3 separate regions of the Homo sapiens genome follow, and regions 2 and 3 are each linked to region 1. The links are contacts of gene promoters, found by promoter capture Hi-C in human tissues and cell types (Jung and others, 2019). All regions are on one chromosome and are shown on one strand. The core of a region is centred on a gene start or on the middle of the fragment in contact, and the rest is flanking DNA. Distances in the headings are between cores, read along the strand shown. Region 1 holds the start of USP43 (ubiquitin specific peptidase 43). Region 2 overlaps USP43 (ubiquitin specific peptidase 43). Region 3 overlaps CFAP52 (cilia and flagella associated protein 52).

Region 1 (3,040 bases), core at 360-2,859:
GACCTTGTGTCCTTGTGTATTAATCACCCAGCCGGGTATCTTTTTCCAGAGAGGGGTAAATAATGGCATTTTCCAGAACGCAAGTCTCCGATTCACAGTACCGTCTGATGTTTTAAGCATGTTATTTATCCTTTAAGTAAGGCTGCTTTTTTGCATGAGGTAACTGCTGTAACCCGGTTTGAAAGATCAAGTTTTTTGTTTGTTTGTTTGTTTTTTGAGACGGAATTTAGCTCTTGTCGCAATTTAGCTCTTGTCGCCCGGCTGGAGTGCAATGGCGCGATCTCGGCTCACTGAATCAAGCGATTCTCCTGCCTCAGCCTCCTGAGTAGCTAGGATTACAGGCATGCGCCACCACGCCTGGCTAATTTTGTATTTTTAGTCGAGACGGGGTTTCACCATGTTGGCCAGGCTGGTCTTGAACTCCTGACCTCAGGTGATCCGCCCGTCTCGGCCTCCCAAGGTGCTGGGATTACAGGCGTGAGCCACCGCGCCCGGCCAGGATCAAGAATATTTAATAAATGATGATCACTTATTAAACAACAAGTAACATTTCAGAGCGTTAGAATACTGCATCTCACATGGTGCTGATCTCTTCCTGAGCTAGAAATTGACGAGAAAGTCATTTTGCAAGACCTTGCCTGATTAATTATAAACCTGACAGTTGCATGGGATAAAGTGAGGGGTGGGGGAGGGGCCCAGGGTTACCCAGGGAATCAAGGGCGGGGCAAGGCCAAACTAATTCTGATTGGGCAATCATTCAACAAGGATCGTGCGTTAAGGAGTGAACCAGAAACCGCGTAGGGGGCGCGCCTGAGAGCCTGAAAACTTCCTGGTTAGCAAATACTGAGGCTGGAAAGGGCCTGAACTTGGCAGTCCATAGATCCAGGTCGAGTTCCGGTTTCCCTGCTTACGGATCGGGCGGCCTCCCTACGTTGCGATAACCTCTCTGAGCCCCCTTCCTTGCCGATTAAAGCAAGGGTGATCAAGTCTTGCAAGTTTTTGGAAAATGATTCTAACCCAATCTGTGGTGTAAAAAAGCAAACCACAACCACTCGGGGGCTTTTTTCACAGGGCAACACGTGGCTCCCAGTTCAGGTCCCGGGTTGGCGGGTGCAGGCACAGACTCTGCCTCCCCCCAAGGGGCAGACGGTCTGGAAGGAGGTGGCGACACCTGTCCGCACACACCTGAGCCTGCGGAGGAACCAGCGGTGCACAAAAGCGCTCCCCACCCCCACACAGCGCCCAGCGCGCGCCTCTCACCACGCCCGAGGCTGTGCTCTGGAGATGCCTGCCTTGCCCTTTTCTTCCTGCAGTAGCCAGGCCTTTACCATTTACTAGGCGCTTTCAGAATGTTCATTTCTCCGTAATTTCCACTGCTTGAAGGCTGCTCGAGGAACAGGAGCAGCGGCGAAACCCAGGTCTGTCGGTTTACGAGGTAAGGAAGGGTGGGGAATCCGACCACGAAGACTCCCAGTCAGCGCAGCGGGGGCGGCACCAGGCAGGGGTAGGGGTGGCCCGGCGCTGCCCTGGAGGGGGCTGGTCGTGCCGCCGGATTCCCGCGCGGGGCGGGGCTGCCCCGCCCTTGGCTCCGCCTCCGCCCCGTCCCCGCACACCTGGCCCGCAGGTAGCCGGCACCAGGAGCCTTAGAGAAGCTGTAGGGCCTGCTGGCCGCTCGTCCGCCTCGCGCCCGGGGGCTCCGCGCCTGGAGCTGCGCCGGCGGCAGCCATGGACCTGGGCCCCGGGGACGCGGCAGGAGGGGGACCGCTCGCGCCCCGGCCCCGCCGCCGCCGCTCCCTGCGCCGCCTGTTCAGCCGCTTCCTGCTGGCGCTGGGCAGCCGCTCACGCCCCGGGGACTCACCGCCCCGGCCCCAGCCGGGACACTGTGATGGCGACGGTGAGGGGGGCTTCGCCTGCGCCCCGGGCCCAGTTCCAGCGGCCCCCGGGAGCCCCGGGGAGGAACGCCCGCCCGGACCCCAGCCCCAGCTCCAGCTCCCCGCCGGCGATGGGGCGCGGCCGCCGGGCGCTCAGGGCTTGAAGAACCACGGCAACACCTGTTTCATGAACGCGGTGGTGCAGTGTCTCAGCAACACCGACCTGCTGGCCGAGTTCCTGGCGCTGGGGCGCTACCGGGCGGCTCCGGGCCGCGCCGAGGTCACCGAGCAGCTGGCGGCGCTGGTGCGCGCGCTCTGGACTCGCGAATACACGCCCCAACTTTCCGCGGAGTTCAAGGTAGGCAGCGCTGCGCCGCCGACCGCCCTGTCCCCCTGGTTTCGCCTCTTGAAAAGTGTGTGCACGATCAGGAAAGGGTTTTCTTGGGGCCTTCTTTAAATGCCGTTGACCAGTTCAGCCCCGGATTACCGGCTTTGTTTTGAGTCGATGTGTTACGCTGTCGCTTGCTTATGTTTTCTTTGTAAATTAATTCTCCTAGGTATTTTGAGAGGGAGTGGGGTGAGCTGGCAGATTGAAGGGTAATCAGCGTTTTTGGATTCAACAAGCATTTGTTGAAGTATTGAAGGCTTGTGGGCCAGACAGTGTTCTAATGCCAGCTCTAGAGCTTCCAGTCTGGAATGATGTGGGGTAGGGAATGGGATGTTGAAGGCCAAGGCCTCAGAGGAAGGAGGTGATGCTTGCGTTGAGATCTGAATGATGAGAAGGATGCAGTCAGGGCAAGCTGTAGGACTAATCCAGGCAGGAGGAACAGCAAGTACAATTGCCATAGACCCGAAGGAGCTGAGTGCTGGAGACAGGGAAAGAAAAGCAGTGGCGTTGGAGCTTAGGAGGCAGATGAGTTTCGCCAGATCACGTAAGACCTAGGAGGCAACGGTAAAGAGTTTGGATTTTATTCTAAGCCCAGTGGAATCTGACAACCTACAGGCCAGGTACCGTGCTGAGTGCCCAGCAAAGGCAGTGAGCGTGCTATTTTGGAGATAGCATCCTTTTGTTTAAGGCGCATTCAATCCCCTACAATGTATGAGCACGGGCTTGCATTTTATTGTCTGCAAGATCACGGTCTACTTACTCGGGTTGCTGCCGGGTCGTG
Region 2 (3,040 bases), core at 185-2,684, 63 kb after region 1:
TGCCACCACACCCAGCTAATTTTTTGTATTTTTAGTAGAGACGGGGTTTCACTGTGTTAGCCAGGCTGGTCTTGAACTCCTGACCTCATGATCTGCCCGCCTCGGCCTCCCAAAGTGCTGGGATTACAGGCGTGAGTCTCCGTGCCCAGCCTGGGATTTTTATGACTAGAACTAACATATGTAAGATGCTTCTCATATTGTAGGCCCCAACAATTGGTAACTTTCAAGCTGCCATATACTTTTACATAAATGCTATCATACCATAGATGTATTTTTTGTTTTTAGTGGATTTTTGTTTGCCATTTTACATATCAAAATAAACTTAAAAGATGTTAAATGAAATAAAATATGATGATGAGGCACTTGACTAAATGGCAAAATGAAACACTGGGTTCCATCATGACCTCCTGATGTGCGCATCCATTTACGTACGCGCACATGTGTGTTTATGTGTACATACATAGATTAAGACTAAACAGAATTTCATGAGTCGATAATTAAATTTACTACATGTGATATACCTTGGTCCATTCTATTCCAGAATAACATATTACTTAATTTTAAAAATGCTTTGGCCAGGCGCGGTGGCTCACGCCTGTAATCCCAGCACTTTGGGAGGCCGAGGTGGGCGGACCACGAGGTCAGGAGATCAAGACCATCCTGGCTAACATGGTGAAACCCCGTCTCTAATAAAAATACAAAACAATTAGCCGGGTGTGGTGGCAGGCGCCTGTAGTCCCAACTACTCGGGAGGCTGAGGCAGGAGAATGGCGTGAACCCGGGAGGTGGAGCTTGCAGTGAGCCGAGATCATGCCACTGCACTCCAGCCTGGGCGACAGACCGAGACTCTGTCTCAAAAAAAAAAAAAAAAGCTTTAAAATATTTCATTTTTTATTTATTAAACATTTTTTTTTAATGCACTGATTACCAGTGTCCCGATGGGCTGATGACTGGCAATTTGGAAGACACCAAACTATATAGAAATCCAGGATCTTTGCTCATTAATTCATTGCACAAATGTATATTAAGTACCTGTTCTATGCCAGGTCCTGGAGCTTCAGTGATGAACAAGACAAATACAAGGCCTGCCCTCATGGGACTTCAGTCTCACTTTGGAGACAGACAATAAAATGTGCTTATCATTTTAGCACTTTCACTACCTGACATTTTGAAAGGGCGACTGATTGACTGTGTCTGTGATAGACATAAGGCCTCTGCAAGGATGTCACATGTAGGCTCAGAGCTGAGGATGAGATAGAACTAGCTATGTGAATAATGGGATGAATTGCATTATGAGCAGAGCTCGTAGCATGTGCAAAGGCCCTGAGGCAGAAAGCATTCGGTGTGTTTAAGACATGATGACAGCCTGGATGAAGTGTAGCCATTCAGGGGTAATTGATGAAGGGTGGGGCTGGAGAAGTGGGCAGGACACTCTAGGCCACGGATGGGAGTTTGCATTTTTTCCAAAGGGGTGATAAATCATTTAAAGGTTCTAAGCAGAGGAGTGAAGACATAATCTAGTGTACAAATCAAACTAGTTGCTCTGCTGTATGGAGAATGTGTAGAAGGGATCTAGAGTGGAAGCTGGAATTCCAGTTAGGAGGGTGCTTCAGGGGCCGAGTGAGAGACACCACTGGCTGAGATGTTGGTGTTGACAATCAAGATATTCGAGACATAGTTTGGAAGTAGAATCAGTAGGTCTGGCTTTTGGATTAGGTGTGGGGCGGAACGGAAAAGCAAGAGCAAAGATGAACTCCTAGGTGGCTGGCTTGGATTAGTGTGGAGGTCAGCAAACTGTGGCCCACGGGCCGGATCCAATCTAGGGCCTGTTTTTTGTTGTTGTTGTTGTTTTTTGAGACGGAGTCTCACTGTGTTGCCCGGGTTGGAGTGCAGTGGCGTGATCCTGGCTCACTGCAACCTCTGCCTCCTGGGTTCAAGCGATTATCCTGCCTCAGCCTCCCAAGTAGCTGGGATTACAGGCGTGCACCACTACGCCCAGCTAATTTTTTGTATTTTTAATAGAGACGGGGTTTCACCATGTTGGCCAGGTTGGTCTCGAACTCCTGACCTCGTGATTTGCCCACCTCGGCCTCCCAAAGTGCTGGGATTAAAGGCATGAACCACCACGCCCGGCCTGTTTTTTTTCCCCCGTTTATTAATAATCTATGGGTTAAAAATGGTTTTTACAATTTTAAAAGTGGGAGAAAGACACGCAGAATATGCGACAGAGAATATATGTGGCCATATGTGACCTGCAAAGTCTCAATATTTGTCATCTGGTCCCTTATGGGAAAAGTTTGCAAACTTCCAGATTACTGGGTTATGCTGTCATTTGCTGACACGTAGAGGGCAAGGAAACGGATATTTTGTTGTCGTTACTTGAGAAATGGTGAGAATATTTATGAATTTTCCTTAGACGTTTGACTTCAGTTCTTAGAAAGAGGTATGCCATAAGCCCAATTGTGATTCTCATCTTCACTTTTATTGCATGCTTAATCAGAGATATGCATTTTGAAGCTTCTCAGAAGAAATGGGGTGAACGCTGACATTATTGTTTGGCTACCTAACTTGGGAGCTCCCTTTTATTTGAGATTTTGCCTGATGAAGGGGTAGAATATTCAACTTAAAATAACAGCACTCTTGGCCGGGCATGGTGGCTCAGGCCTGTAATCCCAGCACTTTGGGAAGCCGAGGTGGGTGGATCATCTTAGGTCAGGAGTTCGAGACCAGCCTGGTCAACATGGTGAAACCCCATCTCTAATAAAAATATAAATATTAGCCGGGTGTGGTGGCAGGCAACTGTAATCCTAGCTACCCAGGAGGCTGAGGCAGGAGAATCACTGGAACCCGGGGGGTGGAGGTTGCCGTGAGCCGAGATCGCGCCACTTCACTCCAGCCTGGGTGACAGAGCGAAACTCCGTCTCAAAAATAAATAAAAATAAATAAATAAATAAAAATAATAACAGCACTTGTTATAGTAAGAATCCGAGGGTATAACTTACTGATCTTTTCTGATTCCAAAAAAAATTCATTTCTGGCC
Region 3 (3,040 bases), core at 200-2,699, 42 kb before region 1:
ACATTAAGTATTTCTCTTAATGCTATCCCTTTTCTAGCCCCCACCCCTGACAGGCCCCGGTGTGTGATGTTCCCCTCCCTGTGTCCATGTGTCCTCATTGTTCAACTCTCACTTATGAATGAGAACATGCGGTGTTTGGTTTTCTGTTCCTGTTTTAGTTTGCTGAGAATGATGGTTTCCAGCTTCATCCATGTCCCTGCAAAGGACATGAACTCATTCTTTTTTATGGCTGCATAGTATTCCATGGTGTATATGTGCCACATTTTCTTTCTATCCAGTCTATCATTGATGGACATTTGGGTTGGTTCCAAGTCTTTGCTATTGTGAATAGTGCCACAATAAACATACATGTGCATGTAGAATGATTTATAATCCTTTGAGTATATACGCAGTAATGGGATTGCTGGGTCAAATGGTATTTCTGGTTCTAGATCCTTGAGGAATCACCACACTGTCTTCCACAATGGCTGAACTAATTTACACTCCCACCAACAGTGTAAAAGTGTTCCTATTTCTCCACATCCTCCCCAGCATCTGTTGTTTCCTGACTTTTTAATGATCGCCATTCTAACTAACGTGAGATGGTATCGCATTGCAGTTTTGATTTACATTTCTCTAATGACCAGTAATAATGAGCTTTTTCTCATATGTTTGTTGGCCGCATAAATATCTTCTTTTGAGAAGTGTGTGTTCATATAGGATAGGAATTCTAATATATTAAACAAATAAAAACAAAGCACATCAGGTTAAGGAGAGCAAGTCTTAGAGCCCTGCCAGTGCCAACTCCTGAGATGCCTCCAAAGAGCTCCATGTAACACTACCTGAAAACTAGTGGATTTTTTGTTTTGTTTTGTTTTGTTTTCCTAGCACTTGGGAACGAAATATCTGTCCAGCAAAGATGCTGGCTATCTTAGGTTTCTCAAACCTTTGGCACTTAAGTCACCTGTGGATGCTGAAATTCTTTTTTATTATTGTTATTATTTTTTGATACAGAGTCTCGCTCTGTCGCCCAGGCTGGAGTGCAGTGGCACTATCTCGGCTCACTGCAAGCTCTGCCTCCAGAGTTTACGCCATTCTCCTGACTCAGTCTCCAGAGTAGCTGGGACTACAGGCGCCTACCACCATGCCCAGCTAACTTTTTTGTATTTTTAGTAGAGACGGGGTTTCACCGTGTTAGCCAGGATGGTCTCGATCTCCTGACCCCGTGATCCACCCGCCTCGGCCTCCCAAAGTGCTGGGATTACAGGCGTGAGCCACCACACCCGGCCCTAAGTAGATATTTCATGTTCATGGATAGGAAGACTCAGTATTGTCACGATATGAGTTCTTCTTAATTTGAACTATAGATTTACTGCAATCCCAATAAACATCCCAGCAAGTTATTTTGTGTCTGTAGACAAACTGATTCTACAGTTTACACAGAGGGGCAAAAGACTCCGACTAGAAAGCACAATATTGATACCTAATGTAGATGACGGGTAATATAGATGATGTAGATGACGGGTTGATGGGTGCAGCAAACCACTATGGCACATGTACACCTATGTAACAAACCCGCATGTTCTGCACATGTATCCCAGAACTTGAAGTATAATTTTTAAAAAAAGAAAGCACAATATTGAAGAAGAACACAGTTGGAGGAGTGACACTACCAGATTTCAAGACTTACCATAAAACTACAGTAATCAAGACAGTGTAGGGTTGGTGAAAGAATAGATAAATGGATCAATGGGACAGAATAGAGAGCCCAAACATGAATTCACATAGTCAACTGATCATTGGTGAAAGAGCAAAGGAAATACAATGGAAAAAAAGATCGTCTTTTTAATAAATAATGCTAAACACCTGGAAAACCAAAAAATAAAAATAAAAAAGCCTAGACACAGACCTTATACCTTTCACAAAAATTAACTCAAAATGGATTACAGACCTAAAACACAAAACAATAGAACTCCTGAAAGATAAAATCCAGAAGACCTAAGATGTGGTGATAACTTTTAGCTATAATACCCATGAAAGAAAGAATTGAAAAGCTGGACTTCCTTAAAATCAAAAATTCTGCTCCATGAAAGACACTGTCAAGAGAATGAAAAATAAAGATACAGAGTGAGAGGAAATATTGGCAAAAGACATACCTGAATAAGGACTGTTACCCAAAATATACAGAGAACTTTTAAAACTCAACAATAAGAAATGGGCCAAAGACCTTAACTGCCACCTCCCCTAAAGAAGATATACAGATGGCAGCCGGGCGCAGTGGCTTGTGCCTGTAATCCCAGCACTTTGGGAGGCTGAGGCGGGCCGATCACCTGAGGTCAGGAGTTTAAGACCAGCGGGGCCAACATGGTGAAACCCCGTCTCTACTAAAAATACAAAAGTTAGCCAAGTGTGGTGGTGTGAGCCTGTAATCCCAGCTACTAGGGAGGCTGAGGCAGGAGAATCACTTGAACCCGGCAGTGAGATCACGCCATTGCACTTCAGCCTGGGGGACACAGCAAGACTCTGTCTCAAAATAAATAAATAAATAAATAAATAAATAAATAAATAAATAAATAAATAAATAAAAGAAGATATACAGATGGCAAGTAAGCATATGGAAAGATACTCTATGTCTTATATCAGCCGGGAAATGTAATTAAAACAGCAATGAGGCACGACTACATACCTTTTCAAATGGCCAAAATCCAGAACACTAACAACACCTAATATTGACAGAGATGGAGAGCAGTGAGTACTATTGTTCATTGCTGATGGGAATGCAAAATAGTACGGCCACTTTGGAAGATAGTTTGGTGGTTTCTTGCAAAATTAAACTTACTCTTACCATGTAATGCAGCAGTTGCACTCCTTGCTATTTACCCAAAGGAGCTGAAAACTTATGTTCACACGAGAACCTGCACACAGATGTTTACAGAAGCTTTATCCATAATTGCCAAAACTTGGAAGCAACCAAGATGTCCTTCAGTAAGTAAAGGGATACGTAAACTGTGATACATCCAAACAATGGCATATTAATCAGTACTAAAAAGAAATGAGCTAT

The links. The method cuts DNA at HindIII sites, captures the fragments that hold promoters and counts their contacts. A contact is called where the count stands out against the background at its distance.
Region 2: a fragment that was not itself captured here is called in contact with the fragment with the promoter of USP43 in region 1 in 1 of the 25 tissues and cell types used here (dorsolateral prefrontal cortex).
Region 3: a fragment that was not itself captured here is called in contact with the fragment with the promoter of USP43 in region 1 in 2 of the 25 tissues and cell types used here (bladder and neural progenitor cells).

What each region holds. Positions count from the first base shown.
Region 1 is chr17:9,643,908-9,646,947 of GRCh38, forward strand. It overlaps USP43 (ubiquitin specific peptidase 43), which reads left to right and starts at 1,610. Exons shown (of 15, transcript NM_153210.5): 1 at 1,610-2,229. The coding sequence starts at 1,726. LOC124903924 (a long non-coding RNA gene) reads right to left here and starts at 1,520. Exons shown (of 2, transcript XR_007065615.1): 1 at 1,329-1,520; 2 at 1-600. It overlaps LOC107985011 (a long non-coding RNA gene), which reads right to left. Exons shown (of 3, transcript XR_001752790.2): 2 at 3,020-3,040; 3 at 2,198-2,810. It also overlaps a transcript of CFAP52 not described here. RefSeq lists a silencer at 1,483-1,542 and an enhancer at 1,851-2,498. The HindIII fragment of the contact is 10,149 bases long and covers 1-3,040 here.
Region 2 is chr17:9,706,792-9,709,831 of GRCh38, forward strand. The region is part of intron 12 of USP43 (ubiquitin specific peptidase 43); the gene reads left to right. Among named protein-coding and RNA genes, the nearest start is that of USP43, 63 kb to the left of the region's middle. RefSeq lists a silencer at 2,057-2,221. The HindIII fragment of the contact is 4,633 bases long and covers 1-3,040 here.
Region 3 is chr17:9,602,241-9,605,280 of GRCh38, forward strand. All of the region lies in intron 6 of CFAP52 (cilia and flagella associated protein 52), which reads left to right. Among named protein-coding and RNA genes, the nearest start is that of CFAP52, 27 kb to the left of the region's middle. The HindIII fragment of the contact is 6,180 bases long and covers 1-3,040 here.